2 separate regions of the Homo sapiens genome follow, and region 2 is linked to region 1. The links are contacts of gene promoters, found by promoter capture Hi-C in human tissues and cell types (Jung and others, 2019). All regions are on one chromosome and are shown on one strand. The core of a region is centred on a gene start or on the middle of the fragment in contact, and the rest is flanking DNA. Distances in the headings are between cores, read along the strand shown. Region 1 holds the start of PLS1 (plastin 1). Region 2 overlaps PLS1 (plastin 1).

Region 1 (4,125 bases), core at 800-3,299:
ATGGACTTGGCTGCTGTCTTGATACAGCTCTAACATGGCCTTCCCCATATTATAGAACACACATGAAATCTCTTTACAAAACTATACATACTGCACTTCCTTCCCCCACTCCCTCCCACAAACAGGGGCTAAGAATATACTTTGTGCTTAGTGCTGGGTGGGATGTTTAAGTCATAGGCTTTAACCTCCAAGAGCTTACACAACCTGCCAACTTCCTGGTCGGGAAGTTGGGAGGTGCTAAAATACTCAGGATACTATATACAATGGGGATACTAACAGCACAAACAACAGTAGTAAGTGCTATAGGGTTCAGAAGAGGGAGAGCTACTTCATGCTAAGGCAATCAAGGAAGGCTTCCAAAAAGAGGTCACACCTGAGCTACACCTTGCAGCATGAGCAGGACTTCAATACGGAAAGAGGGAGGCAAACAGGCATTTTGGGCAAAGGGCCCAGGTGACTGAGGGAAGGAAGGAGGGCGTTTTCAGGACCAGCAAATTGTTAGGTGGGGCTTCAGTGAAAGGGCACTTTTTGAAAGGAATTTATGAGGTACTAGGAAGCTTAGTAAGAGAAACAACTAATTTTCTGCTTAAGCCAGACTTCATGGTATAAGTAGAAGAGAAAAAGGAAGTTTAATAATGGAGGTAAAGAAGAGTATCTGCAGGGAGTGGTAAAAAGACCCCAGAAAATGAGAAAACCTGGATCCCAGGCCTAGCTTTGCCAATGAGGGGCTTGGGTGGCCACAGCAAGTCATCTAACCTCGCTGGTCTCAGTTTTCTCATTTGTAAACTGAAGCAGCTGAACTGGCTGACCTCAAAGGTCTCTACAGCCAAAACTAGACCAGCTGTATATTATTTCTGCCATTAAAACATTTATCATGGGAGGAATGAAGGGGGGCAGGATACCTGTATTCCCTTTCCATATAGGTTTCTCTTCCTGAACTTAAAATTTCCTCTTCCTAAACTTACTACCTCTCTCTCTATATATATATATGCCTCCACATTACACATTAACACTTTACTATAGAATTTCATTACATAATTCAACTTAAAGGAAAGCTGATTACAAAGGTGGTGGGGGGTGTAAAAGTACTTGCTTCAAGTTCAGTGTGTGCCCCCTGTCCTGAAATTTTGCTTCTGGCTCACAGGTTCTTCAAGAAATTTATGCAGCACAGCTGAAGCCTCATACAAGTGTATCCAACACCGTGGCTGGAGGGAAAGATATCACGGTATAAGCCATAAAATGTGACATAGTAAGTAAGTAAAGGAGGAAAAGTGAGAATTCTGTTACTCATCTAAACGACCGCTTCCTTTTAATAGTACCAAATGAAGACCGAAATACAGTAATAATTGAAAAGTTAGGGAGAAATCTTAAATTTTTTTAAGTCTCCACTTGAAAATGCAGCTGAAACACGGAAAGTTTTTTGGCAGTGAAATTCGCTGAAAACTGACATTTTTATGCCGCATCCAGAGGTCCCTATGCTCCAGGAAAGGTACCAAAAACAGCACGGATGGGATTTCACTACAGCCCTATTGATCCTATGCACCAAAAGGCCAAAGGCAAATAAACCAGTCCCAGAATTAAAACAAAACAGGCTGGTTCAGAAAGCCTCACCGGCAGCCACCCAAAGTTGAAAGAAGAAAACTTAATGAAATACCTTATTTCATTGCATAGAATCACAATTCAGTTAACAGGCTTATTGTTTAAGCAGTGTAAATACGCGATTTAACACCTGCGGGCACTGCCTGCCGGGACTGGGCAGAAGCGTGCCCAGAGGACGGCGGGCGCCACACTGCACAGCCAGGAGACGAGACGCGAGCGAGGGGACCCGGAGATACTGCCCCCGAGCCGCCGCGCGCCCCCAAAGGAGTAACGCTTCGCTTTCCATCTGTCTGTCCAGCCTTCCTTTTGGGCCCTATCCCCACCCCCGCGTACCTGCCGCCACCGCTGTCCTGCCTTCGAGAGGGCAGCTCCCACTGGAGATCCAAGTACCTGCAGGTCCACTCTGCGGCTACCTCTCCGCGCCCGCGTAGCCGCTGCGCTCGCGCCACTGCGCATGCTCGGCCGGCACCCGGGCCCGCAAACTCTGAATCCACTTGCCGCGTTTTGCCTGCGGCTCCCAGGGGAGGGAAAGGGAAGCCCAGAACCTGGGTTTAGGCTAAGGGTGAAAGAGGAGTTGCAGGCGCTGGGAGCGTGGATGGGGAGAGGTGGACGGGCGCTGCGGCAACGTTATCTCTACCGCCCACAGTTACCCAAGTCTAAAGATGACCACCTACACCCTGGGAATGAGTTTAGCACAGCAGTTCTCAAACTTGAGCGTGGATCAGAATCACCTGGAGAGCTTTTTAAATCACAGATCCCAAACCCGGAAACTGAGTTTCCGATTCAGTTAGGTCTGGAGCGTAGCGCGACAGTTCCCATTTCTAACATGTTCTCAGCGAAAACTGGTGCTACTAGTCTGGGTACCACACTTTGGGACCTGCTGGTCAAAAGGAAAGGTATACGTTATTAAAGGAAGACTTGTTTCTCTCCCCTACTCTTTTTTTTTCCGTTTGTTTCACGGATTGCTTCCTTTTCCTTTAACAGCCACACCTGATTAAAATAAATATATAACTAAAGCCCACACTCAAACAAAAGTGGGATATTTTCTCTCGCATGTGAGTCAGGTAAATGGAATGCTGCCTCAAGAGTTCTCACATACTTTGCCTGAAGCATAATCCGTAGTTGTGGTCTGTCCAACTCAGTCCAGAGAACAGAACAAGGTTTTGCTGCCCCTTTAACTCAAAGTCCCACGTGCCCCTTCTGCGCCTAACACAATATCCAATACAGAATAGGCACCCAACCAACCCTGAGATGGTAACAATAGAAAAAATAAAGGGGGGAAGTTGAAATTATTTTAAGAACTCAAACAAATTGGACGAGCAATGAACTATGAAAGTAGGTGGGCCATGGAGAGGGAAGATAAGGAATTTTTCCCACCTGCCACCTAGAGAATCAGGTGAATTTAGTATTCTTATCTGATTTTTCCCACCTGCCACCTAGAGAATCTGGTAAATTTAGTATCCTTATCTGATACTTATTTATCTAGATATGCAAGGGGAGTTAAGTAAGTTCTCACAAAATAAAGCAAAATATTTCCTTAAAAGGTAAACATACATCTAACATATGACCCAGCCATTTCATTCCTAGATGTTATCCAAGAGAAATTAAAACATATGCTTACACAAAAACTTGAACAGGAATGCTCATAGCAGCTGTTTTTCACAAAAGCCCCAAACCAGAAGGAACCCAACTGTCCAACAACATGTAAATGAAAAAACAAATTGTGGTATATTTATACAATGCAATACTACTCAACAATAAAAAAGAAGAAATACTCTCACACAGGACTCAATATGGATAACTCTCAAAATCGGTATGCTGAGTTGAAGAAGCTAGAGACAAAACATATTGTATAATCCCACTTATATGAAGTACAAACTAACCTATAATGACAAAACCCAGATTAGTAATTGCCTGGAGCCAGGAGTGGAGGGAAGGATAAACTGCAAATGAGCAGAAAAAATATTTTTGGAGGGGGACGATGGAAATTTTCTCTGTTTTGATGGTAGTGACAAGTTCACAGGTGTATACAACTGTCATCGCTAAGTTGTACACTTTAAACATGAAAAATGTGTGTAAATTATTCACCAATAAGTTTGATAAGAGAACACTTTTTCATGAAATACTCTTATGATCTGTTTTTTTTTCGTGGTAATATTGACCAGGGCAGGTTCATGAGGAAACGTAGATTCTAAATATGGTATAACCTGATTTGGGAAAGGTAAAATAAAAAGTCATCCTCTGTAAATGAAGCTAAAAATAATGCATATAAAATGTCTGTAACAACCCTCTGTAAAAGCAGCCAACCCTAAGATATGATTTGTAAATATACCATTGATAAAACCGTTTCCCAAAATTGTTTCCAAGTGTAAAATAATAACTAGAGTATATCATTAGAAATGCACAACCAGGGCCCAGTGCAGTAGCTCACGCCTGTAATCCCAGCACGTTGGCAGGCCAAAGTGGGCAGATCACCTAAGGTCAGGAGTTCAAGACCAGCCTGAGCAACATGATGAAACCCCGTCT
Region 2 (4,125 bases), core at 517-3,016, 100 kb before region 1:
AGAGTTAATGGAAGAAATGATTACTGTATTAGTCTGTTTTCACACTGCTGATAAAGACATATCCAAGACTGGGAAGAAAAAGAGGTTTAATTGGACTTATAGTTCCACATGGCTGGGAAGGCCATAGAATCATGGCAGGAAGCAAAAGGCACTATTTACATGGTGGCAGCAAGAGAAAATGAGGAAGATGCAAAAGCGGAAACCCCTGATAAAACCATCAGATCTCTTAAGTCTTATTCACTACAATGAGAACAGTATGGGGGAACTGCCCCCATGATTCAAATTATCTCCCACTGGGTCCCTCCCACAACACATGGGAATATGGGAGTACAATTCAAGATGAGATTTGGGTGGGGACACAGCCAAACCATATCAATTACCAAGTACTTTAAATGCTTTGGACAAAAATGAAGCTTAGATCATTTAGACAATGAGAAGAGTTACATAATGGGACACAAGGGTTCAAGTGAAAAGAAATACTTAAAAGTAAAGAAGGCCGGGCACAGTGGCTCACGCCTGTAATCCCAGCACTTTCGGAGGCCAAGGCGGGTGGATCACGAGGTCAGGAGACAAGACCATCCTGGCTAACACGGTGAAACCCCGTCTGTACTAAAAATACAAAAAAATTAGCCGAGCGTGGTGGCGGGCGCCTGTAGTCCCAGCTACTTAGGAGGCTGAGGCAGGAGAATGGCATGAACCTGGGAGGCAGAGCTTGCAGTTAGCCGAGATCATGCCACTGCACTCCAGCCTGGGCAACAGAGCGAGACTCCATCTCAAATAAATAAATAAATAAATAAAATAATAATAATAATAATGAAGAAGAAAGGCTATTTTAATGGTGCAGCTTTAAGAACTTTGTAAGCGAAGGAAAGTGACATGTATTGATTATTGCCCAAATTCCATAAAATAATTCCCTGTGATACTGTGTCATGAAAGTACTGCTTCTTCATTTTTTAAACATCTTGAATTTATTTCAGGCTTTATGTTTCATTCTGTATTTGTTGAAAAAGTATTCTGCATATGATTCATTTGTGACATATGTATTTATTTGTAGTTCACATTAAAATTCCAGGTATAATGAATGGTTAATTTCTGTTTTCCTGTTACATTTTGCATTCAAAATTTTGGAGAAAAAACTTACATGAAATTAGTCAATAAATTTTCTGAATTCTACTCCCATGAAAAGAATTATATGCAAATCAAATGAAATTAAAAATGCAGGCAGTCCAATGACTAGAAATGCTGAAACATACGAGTAACTCTTTATAATTATACCACCCATTTAACTACTTTAATATTATGATGTATTTCCCTTTAAAAGTCTTTTAAAATTTTTTTCTTTAAAATTAGTGTCTATAAATACATTTTCATTCTATAGATGTGGAAAACTAAAAGTCCCTTTTGAATACATCTCTGTATGTGTTATGTATTTTGAACAAATTAGATTCATATTATGTATATATATAATTTTGTGTCCTGCTCATTTCCATACCACTATTACTAAAACACTATTTTTTGTTTGTTTGATTATACTTTAAGTTCTGGTATACATGTGCAGAACATGCAGGATAGTTAACATAGGTATACATGTGTCATGGTGGTTTTCTGCACCCATCAACCCATCATCTAGGTTTTTGTTTTGTTTTGTTTTGTTTTTTGAGACAGAGTTTTGCTTTCTCACCCAGGCTGGAGTGCAATGGCACATCTCGGCTCACTGCAAACTCTGCCTCCCGGGTTCAAGCCATTCTCCTGCCTCAGCCTCCCGAGTAGCTGGGATTACAGGCACCCACCACTACGCCTGGCTAATTTTTTGTATTTTTAGTAGAGATGGGCTTTCACTATGTTGGCCAGCCTGGCCTCGAATTCCTGACCTCATGATCCACCTGCCTTAGCCTCCCAAAATGCTGGGATTACAGGTGTGAGCCACTGCACCTGGCCCCCATCATCTAGGTTTTAAGCCCTGCATGCATTAGGTATTTGTCCTAATACTCTCCCTCCCCTTGCCCCCCAACCCCTGACAGGTCCAGGTATGTGATGTTCCCCTCCCTGTGTCCATGTGTCCTCATTGTTCAACTCCCACTTATGAGTGAGAACATGCAGTGTTTGGTTTTCTGTTCCTGTCAAACACTATTTTTAATGGCACATTTTACTTCATCTTATGGGTGTATCAATTTTATTAACCCTTTACTGAACAACTAGGTTGTTTTCTTGTGTGCTGTATAAACATTGCTATGATTAGCATTTTGCCACCCAACTTTGTGTCTTTCTGATTTTTTCATCAGGATAGGTGGAAAAAGGTGAAATTAGGTCAAAAGATTTTTTGGAAGATTAATATGTATTGACAAACTGGTTTTAGAAGGATTATACAAATGAATACTTCCTCTTACATTGGATGCAGTTCAATAGTTTCTTGTTTTAAATTGCATTTCTTTATTCTGGGTGAAAAGTTTTTCATATTTCTATTATTCATCATTATTTTTCTATGAATTGTTCATTCATGTGTCTTTCCCATTTTGCTATTACTATTTCAGTAGCTCTTCAACTTTCTTCCCTAGAACTCATAATATTCACTTTTGTTTACCATGTACCATATTGTAGTTGTTTGCACACATATTTCCCTAATTTATTTAGGCTTTCCTGAGGACCAACTCCATGCTTTATACTTTTTTTTTTTTTTTACATCCTGCATAACACTGTATAGGTATTAGGTAATTGATAAATATCTGTTGAATAAATGAGTGGATAACCAATAAACATTCAGAACGTTATACCAATTGTAAAAAAAGAATACATTTACAGGACATCTCAAAGAACATTAAGTACTATGACTTGATAAAGATGAAAATAGTTATATAAAGTGTCTGACTAGAGGGATTGCCTTCATCTTCAAATTTATTAAAGCAAACTTGTAAAAAGGCTATTAAGCTTAACACATTTTGGTCTGAATCAGAATTGTGGGGACAGAGCACGTATAACTTCATGAAACTCTAAATTCTTTGTTTCATATCAGAACAATAACAATATATCCATGGCCATTATTTCATTCACCTTCTTCATGTTCCCTCCAAGGGCAGGATAAGGAGGTTTGTTGACATGGCTCCAGTTGACTGGCACTCGGATCATCTCATAGAGCTGAAAGATCACTAAAGCATCTGCAAGGTCACTGAAGCAGGAAGGAAAAGCAGATAAAGGAGGAGGAAATGTTGGGTATTACCTAATTTTATTAAGTACACTGGAGATAGACTTATATCTTTAAGAACATAAGTCATTTAATTCTTAAAGAATGACAGGACATATCATTTGACCCAGAACTTCCAGTCTAAGAATCTGTCCAAAATGTTTACATAAATATTTACAAAGGTATACATCCAAGGACATTCATTGCCACAATATTTATAAATTTGGAAACAACTTAAGTGCCTGGCAGTAGGGAGCTGTTAAGTAAACTATACTATAAACTCCTTGGCCACCATTGGACATAAGGTAGATCTCTATGTATTGATATGAAAAGCTTTGCAAGACATATCAAATTTTAAAAAGAAAATGGCAGAACACTTCATACAATTTGATCTCATTTATTTAAAAAAATTTAGAGTCAAATGTATTTATGTACCTATATATGCTAAGGACAGTTAATAGCAATTACCTCTATTAGGTAAAGAAAGAGGTCAGGAAAAGGGGAGTATGAGAGAGTAAGGGTGGAATGTTTTATTTTATTCCATATACTTACATACTTCCTAAAACTTGTACAGTAAGAATAAGTTCCTGTATTATTTATACATTATTTTTTAACTTAAAACATAATTACAGGAAAATCACAATAGCTACTCAGTAGGCAGCTGTTTGTGTTCGGGAATGAGGGTTAAGAGGAAGGAACTTATGAACAAGTAGGAATTCTCAAAGTAAAAATATTACTACTTTGGATTCAGAAAAATATGTTCTCCTGAGAAGGTTAACGTATGGCTGTTTAGTCTATTTTCAATGCTGTATGCTAAGGACATAAAGCAATAGCAATTGATTTTTTAAATTGCTAGCTTTGTGATATATTATATGGCTTTTCTCCTCCAACAGCTTGTCCAATAAGTTATGTTTCGCTAAGGTTCATATTAAATTACTTTGCATTCT

The links. Contacts are between HindIII fragments. The study calls those that stand out against the background at their distance.
Region 2: a fragment that was not itself captured here is called in contact with the fragment with the promoter of PLS1 in region 1 in 4 of the 25 tissues and cell types used here (bladder, hippocampus, liver and 1 more).

What each region holds. Positions count from the first base shown.
Region 1 is chr3:142,594,317-142,598,441 of GRCh38, reverse strand. PLS1 (plastin 1) reads right to left here and starts at 2,049. Exons shown (of 16, transcript NM_001145319.2): 1 at 1,933-2,049. PLS1-AS1 (PLS1 antisense RNA 1) reads left to right here. Exons shown (of 4, transcript XR_001740938.2): 4 at 1,145-2,533. RefSeq lists an enhancer at 1,754-1,993. The HindIII fragment of the contact is 14,749 bases long and covers 1-4,125 here.
Region 2 is chr3:142,696,991-142,701,115 of GRCh38, reverse strand. PLS1 (plastin 1) reads right to left here. Exons shown (of 16, transcript NM_001145319.2): 12 at 3,049-3,163. Among named protein-coding and RNA genes, the nearest start is that of TRPC1, 25 kb to the left of the region's middle. The HindIII fragment of the contact is 4,919 bases long and covers 1-4,125 here.